3 separate regions of the Homo sapiens genome follow, and all the other regions are linked to region 1. Evidence: promoter capture Hi-C in human tissues and cell types (Jung and others, 2019). All regions are on one chromosome and are shown on one strand. The core of a region is centred on a gene start or on the middle of the fragment in contact, and the rest is flanking DNA. Distances in the headings are between cores, read along the strand shown. Region 1 overlaps LOC107987282 (a long non-coding RNA gene). Region 2 holds the start of SPINT4 (serine peptidase inhibitor, Kunitz type 4). Region 3 holds the start of SYS1 (SYS1 golgi trafficking protein).

Region 1 (4,309 bases), core at 925-3,424:
GATCCCTCCCCTTTTTAGTCTATATAGGATAACTTCTGAGTGTTGCCATGGTGTTTGTAAATTGTCATGGCACTGATAGGAGTGTCTTTTAGCATGCTAATGCATTATGATTAGCATAGAATAAGCATTGAGGATGACCAGAGGTCACTTTCATTGCCATCTTGGTTTCAGTGGGTTTCGGCTGGGTTCTTTACCACATCCTGATTTATTAGCAGGGTCTGTGACCTGTATCTTGTGCCAACCTCCTATCTCATCCTGTGACTAAGAATGCCTAACCCTCTGGGAATGTAGCCAAGCAGGTCTCACCCTTATTTTATCCAGCCCCTATTCAAGATGGAGTCACTCTGGTTGGAAGGCCTCTGACACAATGATTTCTTACTTTAATCCTGGGGTGTATGCTTATCCTTTGGGGTGAGGGAGAAGGAGAATAAGGGAGTAATGTCAGTGACTCTGGCCCCCCAGGAACAGCCTTCATGTCCTTCCCTTCTCTACCCACCGTGGAACATGAGAGATCTGGAAAGTTTCAGTGACATTGTCTGGAATATCTGGCCAGCCTGGCTTGGTGTCTATCAGGCTTTATCTTCCTCATCTTCTTGTGGGACCAGGGACCAGGGACCAGACAAGGCCCCAGGGCATCTCCATTCACTCCCAGGGGCACAAACTGATAGAGCCTCCTGGTGGGAGTGGGGATGCTTTGTGCATATGATAGCCCCTTGGCCAGAGATGGCAGTGTAGATTTTCCCAGCTCCCCACTTTCTGATTTCTATTTTTGTCCATGCTCGGGGCTCCCCAACCTTTTAGGCAGAAACAGAGGCATCCAGTGATGGGTTGGGAAGAGTTGCTGGGAACTCGGTGTGTGACTACCACTAGCTCCACTTTCTCCTGTCCTTCTACAGGTTTGCATTCTGAAAGAGTGGCCCAGGCAGGGTGATGTCTAACCCAGGGATGGCAAAGGTGTCCACATGCCATCATTTCTTCCACCAGCACCCATATCACATGATTGCTGCTCCTTTCCATTAGCCCATGTGTGGCCACAGAGCCCTCAGCACAGGGCTCCAGGCAGCTGCTACAGCTGCCCATTGATTGGGGTTGATAGATAGATTTGCTACCCCTGATTTAACTCAAGAAATAAAATGCTAATGGTGAAAAGTCAGACCTGGCAGTTGAGGTTTTACTGAGTAAGAAGACTGCACAGGGGACCCTGAGCAGGGGTCCAAAGGAGATGGGACCTCAGGCCCTCCACCAGAAGCTTAAGAGGGGGTAAAGCTTTTTCAAGGGGTCCCTAGCCCAGAGGCCTCCTGCAGAAGATGAGGTGGAAGTTGCCAGGGATCTCAGTAATGCACAGGAAGAAGCTACCAGGGAAGGAGGACTGAGAGGTGGGATGGGGCAGGTAAGAAAGCAGGGGTGGGTTAGACGAGGCAGAACCTCTGGCTGAGACCCTTCCTTTAATTTTCTTTTTTAAGCTGCTTGGTCAATAAGTTTATTGTTTTTATCTGAATAATCTTATAGAAAATGACTATTTGCCAGACGTGGTGGAACGTGCCTATATTCCTAAGTACTTGGAAGGCCAAGTGGGGGAGGATTGCTTGAGCCCAGGAGTTGGAGGCTACAGTGAGCTATGATTGTGCCACTGCACTCTGACTTGGGTGACAGAGCGAGACTCTGTCTCTGAAAAAAAAAAAGAAAAAGGAAAAAGAAAAGACAAGAAAATAGTTGTTTGGCTTAGCGCTCAGCAGCCTGCTCCTGAGCTCTTAGAAAACTTGCCTTCTGAGCTACTCAGTCTTTCTTCTGGACAGGGGACGTCTTGGGATGGTTCCACCTTTTCTTAACTTCTTCCCCAGGCTTCCTCTCGTGAACTGGATTCTCTTGTTCAGCATCATGAGCTTTCTTACATGTCTCTCCGTCATGACTGGAGTTATGTTGTTCTTTATGTATTGAGAAAATTGTTTCTTGTAAACATCTTCATCTTCTTACATTGGGTAATGCATATAATCTGCGATCTTCTGACCCAGGATGTGCTTCTGCATTGAACTCCCTGCTTTCTGAATTGGAACCAGGGAATTGTTTGGTAACTGTGAGGGATAGAAAACCTCAATCCACACCTCCCTTCAGGGCCCCCCTACCTTTATTTCCGTTGGTAGTTCTGGCAAGTAGCAAGTGAAGGCACCAAGTAACCATCAATGCTTCCCATGTGATACCCATCTCTGCTCACCTCCACTTGACCTTCATAGGTGTTGTCCATGCCAAGACTATTGAGGGGCCTTCGGGTCAGCACAGGCCAGTACAATGTGCTGCATCATAATCTGGCTGGCCAACCTTCATGCTACACTTTAGACATTCATGAACATATGCTGTGCAGACAATCATATTCCCTTCTGTGTGGGCAAAAACCATATGACAAATGATCTCTCTGTTAGTTGCATGAACTATCCTGAATTTTGGTGTGTTCTACTTATTTTCATCCTGGATTACCAAGTGTGTCTGAGCATAGTAATCAGTTTAACCCACTGGTCTTCTAAATGTCATCTGTATCTCTTAAAGTAGGCCTTACTCTTAACAATTTTAACACACTCCATCCTCCGGAACAGAGAGCTGTGTCCATGGCTTGACACAGACCTGCAGCGTGCAAGGGGGGCCAGGCAAGGCGGAAGCCCTACGATCATTCTTTGATCAACTTTTGCAGCCAAGTGAATGCTGTAGGTTGGGGACTCTGAAGATTTGTGATTGGAAAGGGGGAAGGAAAAAGGACAGGGTCCCAGACTGGTCTCTTCCCCCTCTTCCAGGCCTTGATGGGCCACACTTGATATAGGCAGACCACAGCAAAGCTTAGTTTTGGCCAGGAGAACAGCTCCCAGGGCCCAGGAATCCCAGTAAACAGGTGGATCGAGATGGGACAGCCAACCTCAAGGCCCCTCACAGAACCACTCAGCCCAGCTGCCCCTCCAGACGTCAGGGCAGGGCTTCTTCCCGCACTTATTTTCTCCCATTTCCGATGGCAAACTGCTTTGCAGATGCCTCTAAAGGCCATCCCCAGCCCAGGAAGCCATGTATGGTAATACCTACATGGAAACAGACATCTTCTCTGCAGGAAAGTGCAGGTTTGGGGTTGGAGCGATAGTAAGAAGTTACATGAGTGAGCTGGAGCTTAGAAAATAAAGTTCTAAAGACAGACCAGTCAGGGAGGGGAAGGTCCTGCCCCAGAAACAACATCAGCAGAGGCATTCACTCATTCAATATTTATAAAGCACTTACTATGTGTTCTATTCTAGGTGGTGGGGATTTGATAGAAGGAAAAGAGTGTGTGTGTGTGTGTGTGTGTGTGTGTGTGTGCGGTGGAGAGGATAGCCAATAAATAAATGAACTAACACATATATAACATGTTAGGTGGAGGAAAAGTTATGGAGAAATACACAGGTAAGAGGAATAGTGAGTCTGGGGGTGGGGTAGAGATGGGGGTGATTACTTTGCAAAGTAGTCAGGGAAGGTCTTAAAGTATTATTCAAGTAGTGAACTCAGTGAAGGAGGACATGAGCTGCGTGACAACCCATGAGAAGAGGAATTTAGAGAGAAGAGAGTTCCAGAACAAAGGACCTGAGGTCAGAGTGTTCTCAGGGTGTTGGGGATCATCCAGGAGGCTGGCATGGCTGGGGTGAATGAGTGGTCAGGAGCCTGAGGTGAGTTGAAGTCAGAGAGGTAGCATGGGCACAGAGAATAAGGGCCTTGTGGCTCATTGCAAGGATTTTGCCTTTTATTTGGAGCAAATTTGGGAGCCACTGGAGGAGTTTGAGCAGAAGAGTGACATATGACTTCAGTTGGAAAAGGATCCTTCTGGCTGCTGTGTTGTGAATACTACAGGGGAGATGCAGAACCAGGGAGGGCAGGTAGGTCACTGCAACAGGGCAGGCAAAAGCTGGCTTAAAAAAATGCTTCAGGCTGGGCATGGGGGCTCACACCTGTAATCCCAGCACTTTGGGAGGCCAAGGCTGGCAGATCACGAGGTCAGGAGCTCGAGACCAGCCTGGCCAACATGGTGAAACCCCGTCTCTACTAAAATACAAAAAAATTAGCTGGGTGTGGTGGTGCGTGCCTGTAATCCCAGCTACCTGGGAGGCTGAGGCAGGAGAATTGCTTGAACCCGGGAGGCAGAGGTTGCAGTGAGCCAAGATGGCGCCACTGCACTCCAGCCTGGGGGACAGAGCGAGACTCCGTCTCAAAAAACAAACAACAAAAAACTCTTCATCCAGTGGTATGAGGCCCCCCACACTGTCAGGTAGAAATCTTGGCTTCCTTAAACAAACCTTTATTGTTT
Region 2 (4,309 bases), core at 621-3,120, 230 kb after region 1:
ATATATACACACACACACCATGGAATTCTATGCAGCCATAAAAAGAAATGAGATCATGTCCTTTGCAGGGATATGGATGGAGCTCGAAGCAGTTATCCTCAGCAAACTAACACAGGAGCAGAAAACCAAACACTGCATGTTCTCACTTACAAGTGGTAGCTGAATGATGAGAACACATGGACACATAAGTGGAACAACACACACTGGAGCATATCATGGGGGTGGTAGGGAGAGGGAGAACATCAAGAAGAATACCTGGTGAATGCTGGGCTTAATACCTAGGTGTAGGGATGATCTGTGCAGCAAATCACCATGGCACACATGGTTTATGTATGTAACAAACCTGCACATCCTGCACATGTACCGCTGAAATTAAAATAAAAGTTGAAGATTTTTTTAAAAGATAGCATTTACAATAATATTAAAAATATAAATAAGATTGTAACACCTGCATGAGAAATGTCATAAACCTTTCTTTAAAATATTAATGAAGGTCAAAATAGATGGAAATATATATATCAAAGACAATATTATAAGGATATCATTCTTTTCCAATTGATTTGTAGATCCAGTGCAATTCAAATGAATATCCAAAATAGGTGTTTTGTTTTTGTTTTTGTTTTTGTTTTCGTTTTCGGTCAGAGTCTTGCTCTGTCACCCAGGCTGGAGTGCAATGGCACAGTCTCAGCTCACTACAACCTCTGCCTCCCAGTTCAAGCAATTCTCATGCCGCAGCCTCCCAAGTAGCTGAGATTACAGGAACTCACCACCATAACCAGCTAATTTTTGTATTTTTAGTAGAGACGGGGTTTTGCCATGTTGACCAGGCTGGTCTCCAACTCCTGACCTCATGGGATTCACCCACCTCAGCCTCCCAAAGTGCTGGGATTACAGGCATGAGCCACCACGCCTGGCCCGAAACAGGTCTTTTGAATAACTTGATAAACTGACTAAAATTTATATGAAAATACAAAATCCTAAGATAAACAAAGTTCAAGAGATTAAGTGTGGCTTTGGAGTGGGGGTATACAGTGGAGTGAAATAAAGGGCTCAGAAGCAATCCCACATAATTAAGCAAAATTATTTTGCAGTTAAATAGAAGAGGAACTCATTAATAAATAGGTCTGGAACCACTGAAAAATGAAAAAGGATCCTTATGTTATACCTTACCAAAAAATCAACATCAGGTGGTTTTAGGGTGTAAAGGTAAGCCAAAACTTCAAAACTTTTAGGAGAAAACAGATCCAAGATGTCCTCATGTTCCTAGATAACATAGTGTAGTGTGACTAAGAACAAAAACTCTGAAGCCAAGTTCAAATCTTGTCTCTACCACATAATAAATGAGTGACCTTGTACATGTAACCTAATCTCTGTCTCCATTTCATCCTTAAATGATGGTAATAACTGTACTTACTTCATAGGGTGTATATGATGATAAAGTATATACAAATTACTTAAAAATAGCACCTGGAATTAAGTAGTACTCTAGGTTATAACTAACCCTGTTACTATTATTATAGTGCTATTGCACTCTTTCTCTTGTGCCATGATTAGTTTCTTCTGTGCATAAAAGGTCAAAAAGAGAAAGGAAGAAATCCCTTTTTAATTCCTCACTCTGATGATTCTACCCTTCATGATTAAATATATGCAGAAGCTCTGATCCTTAAGTTTCTATTGCTTCTAGATGAACATGGGACTCACTATCAAGGGTCTAATCAGTTTGGGGCCTTCAGCTTCATGGCTGGGTACCCAAGCACTCACTGTTCAACTCAACACCTAGTAATGTCCAGTCCTGGCCCTTGGGGTAGGTGAGCTCAACCGTCTCAAGTATCAAGCCCAAAATATAACATCAGGTGATACCACAACTATCCTGCCTGCTGCTTGCTGCACCATGAAGTCTGCCAAGCTGGGATTTCTTCTAAGATTCTTCATCTTCTGCTCATTGAATACCCTGTTATTGGGTGGTGTTAATAAAATTGCGGAGAAGATATGTGGAGACCTCAAAGGTATGAAGCTAAGGCAGAAAATAAATCCAAAGGTCAATTATGAATGAGAGAGAAGGTATTGGGAGAAAAGTGTGTTATCTAGGTAGTCCAGGAAGGTCTTCCTTTCATGACAATACCCATAGACACTTAGTCCCTTGACTCAGGGCATTACTTACACTAGGGGTCCTCTGGATGTTTGATGAGAAAAAACAGAAATGACACAAAGTCCTTTCCAGATGGAGACCTCTTTTATAGGAGGTCCAAAGGACTGGAAGTATTTTGAATCAGAGGTTGTGTGACAAATTTCAAAGATCCCAGACCATTGATGATTATGTATTGGGATGAGAGAGAAAGGGGGTTGGAGACAGAGCAAATTAAGACATTTTCAGTATCTGGGCTATGGACATATACAGAACTCTTGGACAGATGATTCCTGTTTAGAGGAGCTCACAATGTAAATGTGAGAGGCAATGAGACTTTCTTCCATAGATAGTGTGTGAAGGCTCAGCGCTTCCAGGGGACGAGAAAGTAGCACAGTTTATACCGTAAGTCAGACACTTCAAGTTCTGGACCTGTTCACTTAGCAGATATGTGCCCTTGGACAAGTCACTCAACCACTTATTATTCTCTTAGTCTCAGTTTCCCCATGTGTAAAATGAAGATCAGAAAAGTGCCTGCTGCAGAGGGTGTTTGTGAGTATGAAATAAGATTATGCACATAACTTTACCAGAGAGTAAATTCCAGGCTGGCTGCTTGAGTAAGGTGGATTGTCAATACAACCATGATTGTGGCTGTTCCAACCACTTACTACCCAACTCTTAACAATAAAAACAGAGGGTTTGCCTCTGAGAAGGCAAGAAAGGAGAAGATGACGGGGTATGAGGATGAACGAGCATCACCCCAAGGTTATGCATTTTAGCATTTTAGTATGCATCCTGCTTTAAAGATAGCAGCAGCCATGGTTACTTAAATTTTGAAGTATAGGTAGTATAGTGAATGTATGAAACTGGGGAGGAGGCACTCTGAATTGCATGTCCTATGTGGGCAATTAAAAGGAAAGGAAGATGATGTGGGGAAGCAGGAGGATACTGTACTTTAATAAACTGTAAGATAGGAAATGTAGGGAAGCTCATCGCCCTGCACAAGCTAGTGGTGGAACCTCCTTTTTCACTGATCACTACTTCTCCTTCTCCAATACACTGCTCACGACAACAACCTGGAATTTTAACCAATTTGCATTGTGCAAGGGCAACATTTCCAAGCAACTCTAACTCCAAGAGAAAACCACATCTTTCAGAGTCCTTGAATATGAGAATAGTTCCAGGCTAAACGTAGGAATTTTTAAGGGCCCATAAAGACAAGTTCTCCTGCTGAGTCCTTACCAATTCCCACTAACTCAATGGGAACCTCTCATGCAGATCCCTGCAAATTGGACATGAATTTTGGAAGCTGCTATGAAGTTCACTTTAGATATTTCTACAACAGAACCTCCAAAAGATGTGAAACTTTTGTCTTCTCCGGCTGTAATGGCAACCTTAACAACTTCAAGCTTAAAATAGAACGTGAAGTAGCCTGTGTTGCAAAATACAAACCACCGTAAGGAATCTAATCCTGTCCTTGGTCCTTGGGGGTAGTAAAAGAAGAGGTTTTGACATCCTAAGATAGAGAAAATTGATCAGGGGCTAACCTTGCTTGGAGTGGGAAGAGGGAGGATTGCTCAAATAAGAAGTTTTAACAGTTGGGTTGGCCGGGCGCAGTGGCTCATGCCTGTAACCCCAGCACTTTGGGAGGCTGAGGTGGGTGTATCACCTGAGGTCAGGAGTTCAAGACCAGCCTGACCAACATGGAGAAACCCCATCTTTACTAAAAATACAAAATTAGCCAGGCATAGTGTCGCATGCCTGTAATCCCAGCTACTCGGGAGGCTGAGGCAGGAGAATCACTTGAACCCGGGAGGGTTCAAGAAGTTCAGAGGGTTCAGAGGTTGCGGCGAGCCGAGATCGCGCCATCCATTGCACTCCAGCCTGGGCAATAAGAGCAAAACTCCATCTAAAAAAAAAAAAAAAAAAAAACCACATTTGGGTGGGCTGTCAGGATCATTTGCTCATTTTGCAGTTAGGAAATCAAATGCCCAGAGAGAAAATAATAGCCACCATCTATTGGACAATTACTGTGTGTCAGGCACTGCACTAAGCAATTAACATATATTGATATAATTTAAAATTATATCAAGGTAGGGCCAGGCGTGGTGGCTCACGCCTGTAATCCCAGTACTTTGAGAGGCCGAGGTGGGCGGATCACAAGGTCAGGAGATCGAGACCATC
Region 3 (4,309 bases), core at 886-3,385, 130 kb before region 1:
TGACCTAGAGAGTCACACCACCTCCCCCCAAGCCTAGTTTCCTCCCCTATAAAAAGGGGACAATAGCTATATTTTCAGATTGTGAGAATTAAACAAGATCATGTAGGCACTTAAGAAACAGATGTTTTCTCAGAAACACTAGATCATGTGCATAATCAGTGAACTAGAGGAATTTGAATACATATTTGTTGGACTGAATTGAGGTGCCTAAAAGAATGGTTGAGCTGGAAAGCACCTAAGAAATCTTTGGGCCTTAATAACTCCCCAACTGGAGTCCAGGGGAACTGTTCAGGGTATTTCCAAATGATAAGGACAATCGCACACTCTCAATAAAGTCTCAAGTTTCTTTACTTTTGTCTGGAATTGTATCAGCTCAAGGTGATAACACGGCTACCACAAGCTGTTCAGAAATTCTGATTGGCAGTTACATGGCTCTTTGATACGTTTTTTTTTTTTTTTTTTTGAGACGGAGTCTCGCTCTGTCGCCCAGGCTGGACTGCAGTGGCGCAATCTCGGCTCACTGCAAGCTTCGCCTCCCAGGTTCACGCCATTCTCCTGTCTCAGCCTCCCGAGTAGCTGGGACTACATGCGCCTGCCACCAGGCCCGGCTAATTTTCTGTATTTTTAATAGAGATGGGGTTTCACCATGTTAGCCAGGATGGTCTTGAACTCCTGACCTTGTGATCTGCCCGCCTCAGCCTCCCAAAGTGCTGGGATTACAGGCATGAGCCACTGTGCCCAGCCTAAGTTTTTTTTTTAATGAGAAAATAATTACTGGAAGGTAGATTAAATGGTGGAAAACGTTAATCATGTCCAACTCCTCATTTCATAAACAGGGAAGCTGAGGTTTAAAGAAGGAAGTGGCTTGCTGGTCACACTGGGTGGCATAGCTGGCCCTAAAACCCAAATTCTTTTCCTGGAACAACTTACTTCCCGTCTTTCCACTTCAGAGAGGGGGAACCTAGGATCAATGAAGTTGATGGGTTTTCGTCTGCTGGAGTAGGAATAAGTGAGTTATCGATTTGCTCTTGCTTTTTCTGTTCTTAACTCATTCAGCAAATATTTACTGACTGTCCACTATTCGGATTTGGAAGATAGATAAAACAGTCATGGCAGCAGAGAGGGTCAGGATTTACTCCTATGTGCGACTTCAGAACCTGTGCCTTTTTCCACTGGACACCCACATTTTAAAACACCCACTACTCTGCCTTCTAATATAGTTCATCTGTGTCTCAGGGCAGGGGCTGTCTTATATATACATGTTCTAGCCTTCCTGCCACCGAGTAGGTGCGAAATCAATGTTGTAGTGTTGAGGAAACACTTGAATTTTATTTATTTATTTATTTATTTATTTATTTATTTAGAGACGGAGTTTTGCTCTTGTTGCCCAGGCTGGAGTGCAATGGCGTGATCTCGGCTCACTGCAACCTCTGCCTCCCGGGTTCAAGCAATTCTCCTGGCTCAGCCTCCCGAGTAGCTAGGACTACAGGCGTGCGCCACCACGCCCCGCTAATTTTGTATTTTTAGCAGAGACGGGGTTTCTCCATGTTGGTCAGGCTGGTCTCGAAACACCGACCTCAGGTAATCCGCCCACCTCAGCCTCCCAAAGTGCTGGGATTACAGGCGTGAGCCACCGCGCCCGACCAACACTTGAATTTTAATACTTACTTTGCTACTAACTGTGTCGTTGAAACAGTATGTTGCTTTCCTTCTCTGGCCCTTAGCTTAACTATCTGTACAGCGGGAACATTGGCAAACTCCTACGTGGAGGAGCTTGCAGGTCCACTTCAAGTTATCAGACTCTAACTAGGAGAAAACATTGAGAATTTAGGCTGAAAATAACGACACAGTTTATCACCTCGTTAATTCCCAAACATCATTACCGCGTCCTAAGCCACCCCACTTGCCTCTCCCCTAGCCGCCTTCCTTTAAAAAAAGAATTCCCCTCTAGAGGGCGCGCAAGCTCTGCGGCCTTCGTTCCTCTCTTCCGTTTGCCTTCACTCTTCCTTCTGCGCATGTGCTCAGTTCGCTATCCGGCTGCTTGTACCTGGTTCAGGAGGTTCAGGCAGAGGTTGCACCCACTACGCCTGCGCAACCTCAGCCCCGCCCCTCCGCTGCTTTCCCCGGAAACGTTTCTTTCCTACGCAGCCGCTCCTGCCGCCGTGGTCGCTGGAGCTTTGCCTCTCTAGGCCGGCAGCGCCTCTCCTCCATGGTCCTGTCTGTCAGCGCTGTTTTGGGAGCCCGCCGGTGAGGCCGGGCCACGCTCAGACACTTCGATCGTCGAGTCTGTCACTGGTGAGTAGACCCCAGAGGAGCTCGTGTACGGGCGGGGGCCGCGCAGGCGGAATGGGCTGGATTTCCCCTCACTCTGAGAATGGGTCTGTCTGCCCCGCCTTCCCCCTGACTCTTGGAATGGGCTCACCCCTTGGTTCCAGTCCCTCCTCCCGGGCGGGGCGACGTTGCCATGGAGACAGGCCGCTGGCTGAGGCCCGGCTCGTGTCCCTGCAGGGCATGGCGGGTCAGTTCCGCAGCTACGTGTGGGACCCGCTGCTGATCCTGTCGCAGATCGTCCTCATGCAGACCGTGTATTACGGCTCGCTGGGCCTGTGGCTGGCGCTGGTGGACGGGCTAGTGCGAAGCAGCCCCTCGCTGGACCAGATGTTCGACGCCGAGGTAGGGTCCCCGGACTGGGGCGGGTGGGGTCTCGGCCTCCCCGAGTAGGCTTTGTGGTCCATCACTACTGTGCTGTAGACGTGGCTGGGTCACCTTCTTTCTTTGTAGCCCTGGGAAAGGGATTTCACCTTTCTGAGCCTCAGCTGCCTCATCCATAAAATGGAATGACAGCAGAGGCTGATTAGTACAAAGAAAAGGGCCTGGATGTTAATACAATAAACACGTCTGTGTTCCAGGCAACTCTGATACATTTCCTTTCTGATACTCTGGGAAAGTGACTTGATTTCTCTGAGCTAGGTTCTCAGGTGCCACATCGGAGAGAGGGGTGGATAAAAGAGCATTCGTGCGGGTACAGTGGAAACTGCCTGGACTTTGGGGTCAGACAGGCGTCCGTTTAAGATCCACTTACTAGCTGTGTGACCTGGGGCAAATGTCACCTCTGTGAACTTGTTTTCCTGTCTTCAAAACCATGAGACTAGTTGCAGAGAGGTCGTGGACTGCAATATAAAGAGCATGTGCTTTGGGTTCAGAAAAGCAAGGGTTCAGTCTAGGCCTAAACATATAAAACTAGCTGTGGGACCTTGGGCAAGTTGCTTCCCCTTTCTGAGCCTTTTCTGAAAAGTGGGCCGGATGCTCCTACCATGTTGCCCTCAACAAAATGTTACAAGGCCCAGAGGGGTTTAGGAATAAGAAGGTACTTTGTAAAGTGTAAAGGAGGCCTATAAGTTGTTACATCTAAGAGGCAGCTGTGGCGTGGTGATGAGCACAGTTCTTTTTTTTTTTTTTTTTTTTTTTTGAGACGGAGTCTCCCTCTGTCGCCCAGGCTGGAGTGCAGTGGCAGGATCTCGGCTCACTGCAAGCTCCGCCTCCCGGGTTCACGCCATTCTCCTGCCTCAGCCTCCCAAGTAGCTGGGACTACAGGCGCCCGCCACTACGCCCGGCTAATTTTTTGTATTTTTAGTAGAGACGGGGTTTCACCGTTTTAGCCGGGATGGTCTCGATCTCCTGACCTCGTGATCCGCCTGCCTCGGCCTCCCAAAGTGCTGGGATTACAGGCGTGAGCCACCGCGCCCGGCCGAGCACAGTTCTTAAAGCCAGGAGACCTGGGATGGAGTCCTTGCTCCTGCTGCTTGTTCTCTGTGTTAGCCCTTGGGCAAGTTATTATCCAAAAAGTGATAAGAATTAAAAGAAGAAGAATGGCTTTGTGAGGTTTTTTTAGGGATAATATGAGATTATGTATGTCAAAGACCTTTCTTTGTCAGCTGAAAGTGTGGTGCAGATGTTTGGCATTTGATAGTATTGTGTTGGATAGTGGAGGTTGCACACCCACCATATGCCTAGTTGTAGTCTCGTAGGAGACTCTATGCTCCTGGGAAGAGCTGTGGGAATGCCAGGCTTTGTTGAAGAGCCATATGATGCACACAACCTGAGTTCTAGCCTAGGGATCAGCAAACCTTTCCTTTAAGGGTGAAGTAGTAAGGATTTTAGGTCACAATTATTCAGCTCTGCCATTGTAGCACAGAAGGCTGCTATAGACAAATATATAAGTGAATAGGTGTGGCTGTGTTTCAATAAAACCTTATGTACAGGAGCAGATGCCAGGCCTATGGAGCCATAGTCAGCTGAACGCTGTTCT

Evidence for each region. The method cuts DNA at HindIII sites, captures the fragments that hold promoters and counts their contacts. A contact is called where the count stands out against the background at its distance.
Region 2: the fragment with the promoter of SPINT4 here is called in contact with a fragment that was not itself captured in region 1 in 1 of the 25 tissues and cell types used here (liver).
Region 3: a contact is called between the fragment with the promoter of SYS1 here and a fragment that was not itself captured in region 1, in 3 of the 25 tissues and cell types used here (aorta, pancreas and thymus).

The regions. Positions count from the first base shown.
Region 1 is chr20:45,489,096-45,493,404 of GRCh38, forward strand. The region is part of intron 1 of LOC107987282 (a long non-coding RNA gene); the gene reads left to right. It also overlaps the pseudogene RPL5P2. Among named protein-coding and RNA genes, the nearest start is that of WFDC2, 21 kb to the left of the region's middle. The HindIII fragment of the contact is 6,084 bases long and covers 1-4,309 here.
Region 2 is chr20:45,720,477-45,724,785 of GRCh38, forward strand. It overlaps SPINT4 (serine peptidase inhibitor, Kunitz type 4), which reads left to right and starts at 1,871. Exons shown (of 3, transcript NM_178455.3): 1 at 1,871-2,006; 2 at 3,404-3,581. The coding sequence starts at 1,892. The HindIII fragment of the contact is 7,531 bases long and covers 1-4,309 here.
Region 3 is chr20:45,361,021-45,365,329 of GRCh38, forward strand. SYS1 (SYS1 golgi trafficking protein) reads left to right here and starts at 2,136. Exons shown (of 4, transcript NM_033542.4): 1 at 2,136-2,295; 2 at 2,509-2,673. The coding sequence starts at 2,512. It overlaps SYS1-DBNDD2 (SYS1-DBNDD2 readthrough (NMD candidate)), which reads left to right and starts at 2,149. Exons shown (of 6, transcript NR_003189.2): 1 at 2,149-2,295; 2 at 2,509-2,673. LOC124904914 (a long non-coding RNA gene) reads right to left here and starts at 2,348. Exons shown (of 2, transcript XR_007067609.1): 1 at 2,048-2,348; 2 at 1,336-1,806. RefSeq lists an enhancer at 1,866-2,305. The HindIII fragment of the contact is 13,954 bases long and covers 1-4,309 here.